Linked DNA regions of Homo sapiens: region 1 is linked to region 2. The links are contacts of gene promoters, found by promoter capture Hi-C in blood cells and fetal thymus (Javierre and others, 2016). All regions are on one chromosome and are shown on one strand. Each heading gives the region's core, a stretch centred on a gene start or on the middle of the fragment in contact. The rest is flanking DNA. Distances are from core to core; before and after follow the strand shown. Region 1 has its middle 76 kb from the start of LINC01641. Region 2 holds the start of WNT3A (Wnt family member 3A).

Evidence for each region. Contacts are between HindIII fragments. The CHiCAGO score rates a contact against its expected background, and 5 or more counts as called.
Region 1: a contact is called between a fragment that was not itself captured here and the fragment with the promoter of WNT3A in region 2, in 2 of 17 cell types (M2 macrophages and total CD8 T cells). The highest score is 5.2, in M2 macrophages.

The regions. Positions count from the first base shown.
Region 1 is chr1:227,466,313-227,472,746 of GRCh38, forward strand. No RefSeq gene overlaps it. Among named protein-coding and RNA genes, the nearest start is that of LINC01641, 76 kb to the left of the region's middle. The HindIII fragment of the contact is 1,445 bases long and covers 1,192-2,636 here.
Region 2 is chr1:228,005,087-228,012,125 of GRCh38, forward strand. It overlaps WNT3A (Wnt family member 3A), which reads left to right and starts at 1,912. Exons shown (of 4, transcript NM_033131.4): 1 at 1,912-2,113. The coding sequence starts at 2,043. The HindIII fragment of the contact is 11,751 bases long and covers 1,017-7,039 here.

The DNA of each region.
Region 1 (6,434 bases), core at 664-3,163, 540 kb before region 2:
CCCCAAGTAGGGCTGGCACAGGAGATTTGTGGAGCCCTATTGTGGGTCTGAGATCTATAAGCATGCAGCAGTGAGTAAAGGTGCAGGCCACGGTGGAGAGAAGTGCAGGTGCCACATGGGTAACATGATGACCTCTTGCGTGTCCCATGCTGCCAGCCCCCAATAGAGCTGGTGCAGGAGGTCAGTGGAGCCCTATTATGAGTTTGAGATCTATGAGCATGCAGCATTGAACAAAGGCACAGGCAGTGGTGGAGAGGAGTGGAGGTGCCCCATTGGTAACATGCTGAACTCTTGCATCTTCCCCAATGCCAGCCCTGTGTGGGGCTGCTGCACAGGGCTGGTGGAGCCCGATTGTAGGGCTGAGATCTATGAGCAGGTGGCAGCAAGCAAAAATGCAGGCAGTGGCAGAGAAGAGTGGAAGCTGGTCTGGCACAGGAGATCAGTGGAGCCCTACCCACAGGTCTGAGATCTGCAAGCAGGCAGCAGTGAGCAAAGGAACATATGGCAGTAGAGAAGAGCAGAAGTGCACCATGGGGACCATGCCGACCTATTGTGTGTCACCCAATGCTAGCACCAAACTGGGCTGGATCAGGGGGACAGCGGGGTCCTACTTCAGGTCTGAGATCTGTGAGCAGGCAGCAGCAAGCAAAGGTTGACATGGTGGTGAAGAGGAGCAGAACCACTCCATGGAAAGCATGCTGACTTGTGTGTCCCCCAATGCCAGCTCCAAGCTGGTCTGCCAAAGGACATCAGTCTGAGCCCTACAATTTATCATTCTATGAGACTTTTTCGAAGCTTTCTTCATATCTTCTTTGCCTTTTCTTAATGAGAACTCAAATACTCCAACTTCTGAGTACCCATCCCATTCTCCTTATCTATCTAGATGGTACCTAAATGAAGGAGCCAGGTAAGAGTCTGATTGTTCCCTTTCTCTTATGTGTTAAGGTAGCTGATACTTGGGAAAATTTAGACCCAATGTTTAGGGATTTCTTGCTTAAATTCAGAATAGAGGTTGGCGTATGGAGTTTTTAATAAGTTGTTTTAAGTCACCTCGATAGAAATGGCTTTATTCCTCCAACTATAATTTGAACACTGAAGGGAAGAAAATTGGAGAAGTGCTTAAAATGATTATGAATGGTGTAAAATGTTACTGCCAGGGCTGCAGAATAGTTGATGGTTTTTTAAACCCAAAGCTTACCCACAGTGTTTTGATTGCTTTAAGATTTCCTCTTTAACCCAAATATATCTTCAGATCTACTCTGGTGACTTACTGGACTTCATTTTCCTCCTTGTTCTAAAAGTGGAGGGGTGGTTCATAGTAAAAAAATTTCAAGAGCTGGAACATAAATTCAGAGTTACATTTGTGATGTAAAGGTTTGGGAGTTTAAAATGCCAGATGCTGCCTGTTCAAGTGTTTGTTTCCATAGCTCCCTCCTCATGTCAACAGAATTATGTTCAAAGATGAGAGTGTTAGAGTTCAAACTCTAATCTCTGATAGGGATGGAAAGGGGGGAGATGAAAGAAAATTTTTAATATTTTACCATCAGAAAAAGAACGAATTTAAGTAGAAATGGTTTTGAATAATATGGTTCTTGAATAAAAACTAAGTTCTTTGAAATAGAAAACATTGTATCATAAAGATAGTTAAATCTGGTTGTCTCATTTGTTTTAATAAATGCCAGATATTTCATTAGTATAGAGAAAATGTCTTATAGCTCTTCTGTTTAAACTTTGATTGGGCTCTTAATTTCTTTAAAAGTTAGAAAACTTAGGCCTAGCATGGTGGCTTACGCCTGTAATCACTGCACTTTGGGAGGCCAAAGCAGGTGGATCAGCTGAGGTCAGGAGTTTGAGACCAGCCTGGCCAACATGAGGAAACCCCATCACTAGTAAAAATACAAAAAATTATCTGGTCATGGTGGTGCATGCCTGTAATCTCAGCTACTCAGGAGACTGAGGCAGGAGAATCACTTGAACCTGGGAGGTGGAGGTTGTAGTGAGCCGAGATCGCGCCACTGCACTCCAAACTGGGCAACAAGAGCAAAACTCCGTCTCAAAAAAAAAAAAAAAAAAGAAGAAGAAGAATTAAAGCTCATGATGTATGTGCCTTTATAACTGGAAAGTACCATATTCAATTTTCAGAATATTCAATAATAGTGAAAGAACGAATAGATTGTGTTAATAGATTGTAACTTTATGCACAAAGTATGGAAGTACTTGTGAATATTTATGCTCTGTTTGGTGGTGTAAGGTAAACCTCAGTGACTTTACACACCAGTTGGTAGATGGGTAGTGCTGGATGAGATCCCAAAATAGGCTCTTCATGTCTTTTTTTAGTATGTACAACACATTTTAATGTACATCTTATTTGGCCCTTCCAAACACAAATAAGGCCTGTGTATATTCTCCCTGTATTGATGATGAAAAAACAAAGACTTTGAGATCTGAAATGACTATGTAAGACAGCTACTGAACAGAACTAAGGTTCTATAGTAAGTACCCTGAAACTGACATGGAGATGGTAGCGATGCCTAATTCAGTTCCTAAACTTTAAAACTGTGGAATACATTGTATGTTTTACCTATAAAGTAAACTTATCTCTTAGAACTTACTCCACCTTGATTAGTTCAATTAAAAGCTTATTTTATACAACTCAGAGGCAACATTTACCTGTCCATTTTTTTTTCTAAAGGGAAAGGGGTCTTAACTGTGTTGCCCATACTGGCCTCAGTCTTCTGGCCAGGGCTCAAGTGATCCTCCTGCCTCAGCCTCCTGAGTAGCTGGAATTACTGATATATTCCATCTTGCCTGGCTCCATCTTATGTCTATACATTAATTTCAACAGATACGGATAAAAGTAGAGGTAATAAAATTACCCAAATTTACCAATCAAGCAGGTTAATAATTTTTAAAGAGTTTTCTCTTGTCACTGTAAATTGAAGCTGAGAATTTCCTGGACAAGAGAAGCTGGAGACAGGAGAGGTAAGGTATCATGCCTTAAGCATAGAACAATAATAAGGAGTGTTAAATCAGAAAAGTTAAAAAAATAGTTTGTGAGCACAGAATTTAACATTTTATGTTTATTTGCATGACACTTAAATTTTCATTTCAATTTGCCTCTTGAAATTTATTTTTCTGGCATTCAATAAAGTGATAAGCGAAACCTCAATTTCAGCATTTGCCTACAATTCCTAAGTTTCCATAGAAACTGAGGCAGGACATTAACAATTTGCTGTTAATATCTTTAGTTTGGACAATTTTATATCAGTTTACTTGGAAACTGAGAAATTCCTACTTAGATGTAAAACATTTTAGTTTTACTACAATGAAGAATGGAATTATTTTGGTTACTTAGAAAAAAATCAGACGTAAATAGTGTACTTTGTTCTTCTGAATCATTTCAGAATAATGTGATTTCTCCAAGCCACTTCACAGAGATATTCCTAAGAACCTTTTTTCAGATAGTCCCACAGACATTTTCTACTACCTTGCCTTTATTTAAACAGTTATATGGTTTGGCTGTGTGTCCCCAGCCAAATCTCACGTTGGATTGCATAATTCCCAGTGTTGGGGGAGGGATCTCGTGGGAGGTGATTGGATCATGGGGGCGTATTCCCCCTTTGCTGTTCTCACAATAGTGAGTTCTTATTATATCTGATGCTTTGAAAGTGTGCAACACTTCCCCCCTTTGTTCTCTCTCTCCTGCTTCACCACTGCAAGACATGCTTGCTTTCCCTTCACTTTCCACCATAATTGTAAGTTTCCTGAGGCCACTGAGCCATGCTTCCTGTACAGCCTGTGGAACTGTGGGTCAATTAAACTTCTTTTCTTTATAAATTACCCAGTCTCAGGTAGTTCTTTATAGCAGTGTGAGAAAGAACTAATACAGAGAAGGGGGGCATTGCTGGAAAGATACTTGAAAATGTGGCAGCAGCTTTGGAACTGGGTAACAAACAGAGGTTGGAACAGTTTGGAGGGCTCAGAAGAAGATAGAAAGATGAGGGAAGGTTTAGAACTTCATAGAGACTTGTTGAATGGTTTTGACCACAATACTGATAGTGATATGGACAGTGAAGTCCAAGCTGAGCTGGTCTCAGATGGAGATGAGGAACTTATTGGGAACTGGAGTAAAGGTCACTCTTACTGTGCTTTAGCAAAAAGACTGGTGGCTTTGTGCCCCTGTTACAGAGATCTGTGGAACTTTGAACTTGAGAGAGATGATTTAGGGTATCTGGTGGAAGAAATTTCTAAGAAGCAAAGCATTCAAGATATGGCCTGGCTGCTTCTAAAAGCTTACATTCATTTTCATAAACAAAGAAATTACCTGAAACTAGAACTTACATTTAAAAGAGAAGAAGAGTGGAAAAGTTTGGAACATTTGCAGCTTACCCATGTGGTAGAAAAGAAAACCCGTTTTCTGGAGAGGAATTCAAGGCTGCAGAAATTTGCGTAAGTAAAGATTAACTGAATGTTAATAGCAAAGACAATGGGGAAAATGCCTCCAGGACATTTCAGAGACCTTTGTGGTAGCCCCCCCCACATCACAGGCCTGGAGGCCTAGGAGGGAAGAATAATTTCATGGGCCAGGCTCAGGGTCTTGCAGCTCTCTGCAGCCTCAGGACATGGCACCCTCTGTCCATGCTGCTCCAGCTCCAGCCATAGCTAAAAGGGGCCAAGGTACAGCTCAGACCATTGCTTCTGAGGGTGCAAGACCCAAGCCTTGGTGTTTTTCATGTAGTGTTGGGCCTGCAGGTGTGCATAAGGCAAGAGCTGAGGTTTTTGAGTCTCTGCCTAGATTTCACAGGATGTATGAAAATGCCTGGATGTTGAGGTAGAATTCTGCTGCAGGGGTGGAGCCCTTGTGGAGAACCTCTACTAGTACAGTTCAGAGGGGAAATGTGGTGTTGAAGCCCCTGTACAAAGTCCCCATTGGGGCACTGCCTAGTGGAGCCGTGAGAAGAGGGCCACCATCCTCCAGACCCCAGAATAGTAGATCCATTGACAGCTTGCACTGTGTACCTGGAAAGCTTCAGGCACTGAATGCCAGACTGTGAAAACAGCTATGGTGGCTCTACTCTGCAGAGCCATAGGGTCAGAGCTTCCCAAGGCCATGGGAGCCCACCCCTTGCATCAATATGGCCTGGATGTGAGCTATGGAGTCAAAGGAGATTATTTCAGAGCTTTGAGACTTAATGGCTGCCCTGCTGCATTTTAGACTTGTATGGGGCCTGTAGCCCCTTCATTTTGGCCAATGTCTCCCATTCGGAATGGGTTTATTCATCCAGTGACTCTACCCCCATTATATCTTGTAACTGTTTATTTGCAGGCTCATAGGTAAAAGGGATTTGCCTTGTCTCAGATGAGATGTTGGAGGTGGACTTTTGAGTTAATGCTGAAATTAGTTAAAACTTTGGGGGACCGCTGGGATAGCATGACTGTGTTTTGCAATGTTAGAAAGACATGAGATTTGGGAGGGTCCAGGGTAGGATGATATAGTTTGGCTCTGTGTCACCATCTAAATCTCATGTCAAATTGTAATTCCTAATGTTGGGGGAGGGATCTGGTAGGAGGTGATTGGATCATAGGGACATTTCTTCCTTGTTGTTCTCATGATATTGAATGAGTTCTCATGAAATCTAGTTATTTAAACGTGTGTAGCACTTCCCCCTTTACTCTCTCCCTCCTGCTTCACCATGTTAAGACGTGCTTGCTTCCCCTTCACCTTCTGCCATGATCGTAAGTTTCCTGAGGCCTCCCAGCCATGATTCCTGTACAGCATACAGAACTGTGAGTCAATTAAACCTCTTTTCTTCATAAATTACCCAGTCTCAAGTGGTTCTGTGGTTCTTTATAGCAGTGTGAGAACAGACTAATACAGTTGGGTTTTATTCCTTTCAACAGCAAGCCTATAGAAAAAGATCAACTGCTTGGGCTGGAGGAGAAGAACACTTAGGTCAATACATGATTTGTTAGCAACCAGCTAGAGTTTAGGAGAGAACACTTTTGCTGTGCACTTGAAAAGAAACCTGTCTATGGGCACTGGATAAGACACAGGCCTTTTCATGAAGCTTCAAGCCATTCAGAAAGCTTAGCACATGATGGAGGAAAACAGGAATGGTGTTTCCAGATGTAGAGAGATAGGTGATGCTGGAGGGAAAGCTGGATCAGAAGAGAAGGAGTTCATTGTAGATGAATTAGGTTTAATGTCCCTGTGAGATAGCAGAGTGGTAGTGTTCAGTCATCATGTGGATATACCGGACTGGAACCTGAATGTGAGCTAGAGGTAATGAATGAGCAGTATGAGTAGCTACTTAAATGTGGAGAAAGTGTGTAGAGTGAAAGTGGACATGCTGGGCATGGTAGCAAATGTCTCTAGTCCCAGCTGCTTGGGAGGCTGAGGTGGGAGGATTGCTTGAGCCCAGGAATTTTTGTGT
Region 2 (7,039 bases), core at 662-3,161:
CTGGCATCCTCTAGGGGGCTCTAATCCCCGAGCCTCATTTCTGGGGAGGTGGGGGTAACAAGAGTCTGCGTGCCTCAGGCTGGGCTCAGGCGCCCACCCCACCTGCAGCCCAGGTTTTCCCCAGTACCACAATTGGGTGGGATTTTTGCTGCAAGGCCAAGTCCAGAGGAGCACAAACACGCTCCTCCCCTCCCCCTCCCTGACCCCACCGCCGCTTCATTCCAGAGCTCTTCCCTCTTTCCCTCTGAGGGTGGGGGCCCCGCAGTGCCTGGGAGAAGCGGGTGGGCGGCCGGGCATGCGTAGCGGAAACTGGATTCCCAAGGTAGTGAGGAGCAAAGGGAACTTTTTTTCAAAGAGAAAGGCTGTCACTCTGAATTCAGGACTCCTGACATAGTCACCAGGTGACCCCTAGGGCCGGTGTCCACAGGACCACAGGCTCCCTCTGCAAACGCAGAACCAAGTTGTGAGTGGGGCACACTGTGGGAAGCAGCTGCCTCCATCAGCCAGCCAGTGACACACCTGGGGACATCTCAGCCACCCCCTCCCTGAGAAGCTGCACAGAAGCGGCCACATGCCCATCCCTGCCTCTCCATGCACCTCCCTCCCGCAACTCTGCAGCCGCACAGGAGGCCTAGCCCACAGGCTGGGCAGTGCAGTATCCCCAGAGAACACACCACGGATGAGTCTGGAGTTGCTTGGAGCTCTCAGAAGCTCCCGGAGCCTCCTTCCTCAATTCCAACGCGGTAACCAAGATTCCTGCTGAGCTTAGGTCACAGTGTGACTGCAGGAGGACCAGCCGCGATGGGAGAGTGCCTCTTAACCATCCCAGTTATCAGGTCCCCCGGGGGAGGCTGGGGACACTTCCCCTCTGCAAATTACAATCTCCCCAGGCGGCTCCCGGGGCAACACATGGATATGCAAATGACTGGGAGCTGGAGAGTTGACTGGTCACTGGGTGACCTTGGGCAAGTCACTTTCCCTCTCAGGTCTTCCCCTCTCCATCAGCAAACTCCTAAAGCTTAACTAAACAGTCAGAAATCCCTCTGTCGGAACAGGCTGCATAGCTCTGGGCAGACCTGGAGGTTGGTGGTCCCAGAACCTGGGGGCAGCACTGCGCTTCCCCACCGTCCCATCGCGTCAGGGGCTTCCACTGTTCTCTTCCCTGGTGGAGTGATGGGGAGAAAAATGGAGGGGTCAATCCCTGCGCCACAGAGAGAGTCCCACTCGTCCCCAGCTGTGACCCACAGACGCGTGGCTGCACCTTGGAGGTCCACCTGGCCGCTGTCCCCATTGCAGGCTGCACCCATCCCGGACCCTTTCTATCCGCCGAAGGCGCAGGCAGCTCTGGTCTCAGCGGAAGGAGTCCGGCCGCAGGCAGACGGGGCCAAAGGACGTGCACCCGACAACCGTCCGCTCCCTCCCCAAACCCCCGCCCCGAGAAGGTTGATGGATGAAGGGGAGCCCTAGCCCAGCCACCTCGGGGGCAAGAGACGGAGCTCGCCACAGACCAGGAGCGAGAGGGGGACTGCGGGTCCCACCGTGAGCGCAGGGCGCGCGGGGCTGGAAACCCAGGACGCGGCCCGGGAGCTCCAGGAGGGCGCCTGCGGATCGCGCGGCCCCGGGCCGGCCGCCTGCCCATCTGGCGCACCCCAGCGCGCCGCGCACACCTGGGGGCCCGCACACCAGCACGTCCTCAGACACACCGACACCCACGGCAGCAGGCGGGGGCCAACGCCGCCGCCGCGGTTCGGGCTCCCGTGGCCCCGCCTGCCCCTGCCTGCCCCGCCCGGGCCCCGGCCCCGGCGGGCGCCCCCCGCGGCGCTGCCCCGCCCCCGCCGCCCCGCGCCGCCCCGGGCCTCGGCCCGCAGCCCGGCCGCCGGCCCACCTGGCGCAGCGCCGCCCTCGGAGCCCGCGCACACCCGCGCACCCGCGGCCGCAGGAGGGCCCAGCGACGCCGCCGCGCCAGCTCCCAGGGCCCGGCCCCCCCCGGCGCTCACGCTCTCGGGGCGGACTCCCGGCCCTCCGCGCCCTCTCGCGCGGCGATGGCCCCACTCGGATACTTCTTACTCCTCTGCAGCCTGAAGCAGGCTCTGGGCAGCTACCCGATCTGGTGGTGAGTGAGCCTCCTCGCGTTCGCCCCTGCCCCTGTGCGCCGCGCCCGCAGCAGACGGTCCCCTCGGGCAGGGACCCCGCGGTGGCCCGAGCCCGCGCCCTTCTGCTCCAGCCCCGCGTGCGGGCCGCGGGCGGTTGGTTTTCCTTGACGGCCACTTTGGACCTGTTCAGGCCGCTGGGACGCGTGGGTGGCGGAGTTTCCGGAGACATTGATTCCCGAGCGGGGGAGTAGGGGAGGTTGCGGAGGTCCTAGCTGCCCCTGGCGTCGGACAGGGCGAGCAGTGGGCTGGGGAGAGGCTGAAAGAAGGTCGGCACGCACGGTCACCGAGGGGACAGGCAGCTCGAGGCCAGGGGACAGGCGAGGGAAGAGGGCCAGCGAGAGAGAATTCGCCGGAGACTTTCCTCAAAAACCGTATCTTACACACAAACACACACACACGTTTTAAAACAAAGTCGATGAGACAAGACTGAACAGCTCGGAGCAGCGTGGTTACGTAAAGAAAGCTGGGACCCGGCGGGGAGTGGCGCAGAGCCGGCGGCGGGGCGCACTGGGGGCCGGCCCTGGGCCCCGCGCGCCTCCCCGCCGCAGTCCGGGCACGGGGGTTTCCAGGGGCCCTCTCTGCGAGCCCTCCGCATGGGTCCACCTGGCAATGAGGGGCTGCTGTAGAGAGAGTTAAGGGTGAGTTAAGCACGGGGTGTGAGGGGCTCCAGGACCCTCAATCAGAAAGCGCTGTGCTGCGCCCTCCACACCAGAAAAGGCGCGTTCCGTGAGACCCTCCCCAGCCTGGCGATGGAAGTGCAGATAAACCAAAGGAAGGGTCCCGAAAGGTCTCTCTCAGGCCTCCCACCTCCACTGCACATATCCTGTGGGAGGGGGAACGGTGGCCACACTTTCGCCAGGGCTTGTGATCCCTCAGAGCCCTCACCAAGCAAGGATCACCCCAGTTCCGAATTAAGGGCGCTCTGAGATGCCCAAGATTGAGGAACACAAGTGGGAGGAATGTGGGCGCGCAGGGCCGGGCGCAGCGCTGGTAGGACCCACAGTTGGAGAGAAGCCTCCCCACAAGCATGCACACTCCCCCCCATCCTTCTCCGACGGCAGCCTGGAATTATAATAATTACGCCGAGGGGAAGGGGGGAGACCCAGCGAGCCGAGGTACATCTAATCCGATAATAATTTTTCTCTTCGAGATGGTTCAGGAGCGGGGGCTCCCGCGGTAGGGGCGCCGGGCCAGGAGCAGCGGGGAGGGGAAGGGGCAGCCCTAGGCAGCTGAAGGGCCTGGAAGAGGCCACGAGGCCGCGGGGACGCGCTTCGGGGACCCCCGCGCGCCCCTATTTCCGCGTGCCCCATTTCCCGTGCGGCACCTGCTGCGCCCAGTGGCCCACCTGAGGGTCAGGCTCGGGGCTCGCCTTGGGGTGCGGGGATACTGACGCGCGTCCAGACGGCCGCAGGGAGCCAGGGGCAGCGCGTCCGTCCGAGAGAGCCCCGAGGGCTGCCGGCTTACGCACCAGGCTTCTAATTAGAACCCGCCGCCGCGTTCCTGAGCGCAAAAGGAAGCTCCTTCGCCCCGCGCCCTTCCCATAAATGTCGCCAGCCTCCTGGCAACCCCGCGCCCTAGGATCTTTGTCTTGTCGGCCCTGAGGGTTCCTAGCCTCGGTCCCCATCCACCTCATATGCATGTATACCTCCTTTTCACCTGGGCCCCCTGTGTTCTACCCTGAATGGACCCTGAGACACCCTCGGGGACAGTCAGGCATTCTGCAGGGGAGCCAGGAGGAGCAGAGAAGTGAAGTCCCTGTACCCTCCGCACCCTCCTATCAAGAGTCCAGGACAGCCCTTTGGCCACACAGGGAAGCGGGGCATAGAACCCCACCTGACACTGACCGGGGTGGGTGGTGAGGACCCCTCCCCCATCCCCACCACCACTTTGTTCTCAGTAGGGTTCTCACACTTGGGGATTCTCTGCTTCCTGAGAAGCAGCCTCCCCTTGGGGGAGGCTGGCTCCCTGGGGACAAGTCTGCCCCCTTCTTGATCCCCTCTCTGCTCCCAGGCAGGCTGCTCGGGCTGGAGCAAAGACATGGCTTCCCCCAGGCATGAGCAGCACCCCGGCAGCATAGGGAAGAAGACTCACAGAAGGACGCAGTGCTGCAGGACCCCTGCTGCTGGACCCCTGCCGCTGGCATCCTACAGTTTAATAGCCTTAATAGCCGGGGAAGATTCTCTCTCTTTCTCTGGTCTTCTACCCAGTAGAGCATCTCCTCCTTTCTCCTGCCTCCCCGCATCCACCCCAGATTAAGCATCACCAGGGGAGGAGGGGACCTTGGCCCCTGCCAGGTGGGCTCCTGGTGAGCCCCAGTGGAACAGAGCAGGCTGGGGTGGGGGGCCTCCCTGTAACTCCTCACCTGTGCCCCCAGCCCCTCCCTAACATGAAGCCGCTGGCCCCTTGATTCTCCCCCCTCCACCATCACCGGCACATGAAAGTGAAAGTGAAGGGGAATCTCCTCACCTGGAGAAACAAACCAGGAAACAGCCCAAATCAGGGTAATTAGGCTTTTGAAGTTGGCAGAGGGAGAGGCAAAGGTGTCCCTGTGGCCAGCAGCCCTGTGAGAGTGTGAAGGGCCACCTGCCTCCCCAGGGCTGGGTGGCCCAGAGGTGTCTTATACCCACGCAGCAGATGCCAGTGGTCCCAAGGCTGAGCGGGTCTGAAATGCAGAGAGACGGGCCTAGCCTAACACTGAATGGCCCAGAGCTGCACAGATGTCCAGGGGCATCCATTCTGAGCTCATCCAGTGACAGAGAGGAGACAGGCAGGAGACCAGACCAATGCATATGCATCTGCCCACCTGCGTCCCATGAGGCCACAGACGGCAGGAACCTAGTGGCCCCAGCCTCCCAGCACGCCCCTTCTAAGCTGAGTTCTCAGGAACAAGAATTCTTGGAAGAGCCCACATGGACAGAGGACAGGGCAGCTGCGCTGCAAGGAGACCATGGCTCCATCTGAGAACAATCCCCAGGCACACCCGCACTCCAGGGCACTCTGAGCACCTCTCCCTTCTTCCCATGTCTGGGTTAACGGAATCTTGTCATCTCCCCAGGGACCCCACCAGGACCCTAGAGGTGGGCCTGTGCCTCCCGCCACCGCCTCCCCAGGGTCCAAGCCCACTTCAGGGCTTGCAACTGGATTTTGTTCATCTTTCAAGTCCCTCTGCTGCCTTTACCAGACTGGGCTGTGGCACTCCCGCCACGGCCACCTCCTGCTTCCGTTCTCAGTCCTGGCCCTCCCCTGGGACCCACACCCTCCCAGCCACCTGGAGTTGCTGCCAGGCCTGGCCATAGCCACCGTCGCTGCCTAGTGGAGCACAGCAAGCTCCACCCCTTACCCAGCCCTGCTCTCCCTCTCAGGCCGTTCCTTCTGCCCGGCCGTCACCAGCTCCTGCTGGACTATGGGATCCCAAGCACAGAGGCCTGGCTGCTTGCAGATGGCCACCCCAGTTGTCCCAGCGAAGTGCAGTGTGGGCTGTGTCCAGCCTTTTGCCTGCCCCTGGCCTGCTCCACAGCCTCGCTCATGCTCCCTCCAGGGTCTCCCTCACATCCCTCTGGGCCTCGAGCTTGTCACTATGACAGAAACACATCATGACCTCCATTTTTATAGGGCACCTCACACAGCCCTCAACAGAAGATGTAGGCCCTTTCAGGCCCCCACTCTCCTACACACTCATGGGTGCAAACAACCTCCTGGGCACAAGAGCTCAGCCCCTCCTCCTAGCCCTTCATGGGCTGGAGGGCCAGCACACTTGGAGGCCCTGCTCAGCCAGTGTCTGCACTGCACCACCGCCAGGCACTTCGCCCCTGTGTCCTCAGTCCTGGTGGGCCTCATTGTGGTGGGGAGACAGCCTGACTGGAAGAGGGGTCGGGTGAAGAGGCAGCTTAGAGAGGCAGGAGCCAGGAAAGGGTGCAGGAGAGAAGGAGCTCGGCTGGAATGATGGGTCAGGCATACGTGTGTGGTGTGTGGGCAGGTGGCTGCAGCATGGGTGTTTCGGGGACTGAGAGGGGCCAGTCGAGCAGGGCAGGGACATGGCCCAGGGTACCCAGAAGCTCAGATGGGAAGGGCCTTGTGATAGGAGGGATGGTTGCCACTCCCAGAGTCACCCTGCCTCCACATTAGCCTGCCACTGGCCCACTCCCTCTGCAGGCCTGGCCTCACCCTAGCCCCTTCTTCCTTCTCCCTTCGCCCGCATCTGTCTGTGTCTCTCTGTCTCTGTTTCTCTCTTCCCTGCCTCTGTCCCTCCATATCTCCATACCTTTGTCTCTCAGTTTCTCCCTGTCTGTCTCTCTCTCTTCCCTGTATCTGTCTCTGCCCGTCTCTGTCTCTATCTCTCTGTGTCTGTCTCTCTCTTTCAGTCTTTGTCCTGTCTCTCTCTGCCTGTTTCTGTCACTCTATCTCTTTTCATCTCTGTCTTTCTGTCTTTTGCAGTCTCTGCCTCTCGTCTCTGCCTCTGGTGCTGAGGACAGCAGTCACTAGCAAATAAAACTCGTGAAACGAGCTGAGTGGAGCCACCAGGCCAGCCCTCCCAGAGCTGTGGGATCTCAGGGCCCTGGGGGTGGCATTGCTTCTCAGAGCTGCCCACACACAAACCCCTCCTGAGGGTGACGGTCAGGAGTGGCCACACGTCAAGTGTCTGCAACCAGACATTGGCCCTGCATAACTGCCAGGATCCGTAGCCGCCTCAGGGACGCACAGCACCCTTCCAGAGTGCAAAGCTCCTCCTGCCTGGTGCTCGCACCTCAGGCACTGGCCAGCTTGGGCCCTTGAGGCCAGCTGCCCCTCTGACTCACGGGGCTTGTTCTAACGATGTTTGCTTCGCATAAGCCTCCTAGAATCTTTTGTAGCAGGGAGAGCAGGATGAGTAGATACAGTCATAGCAG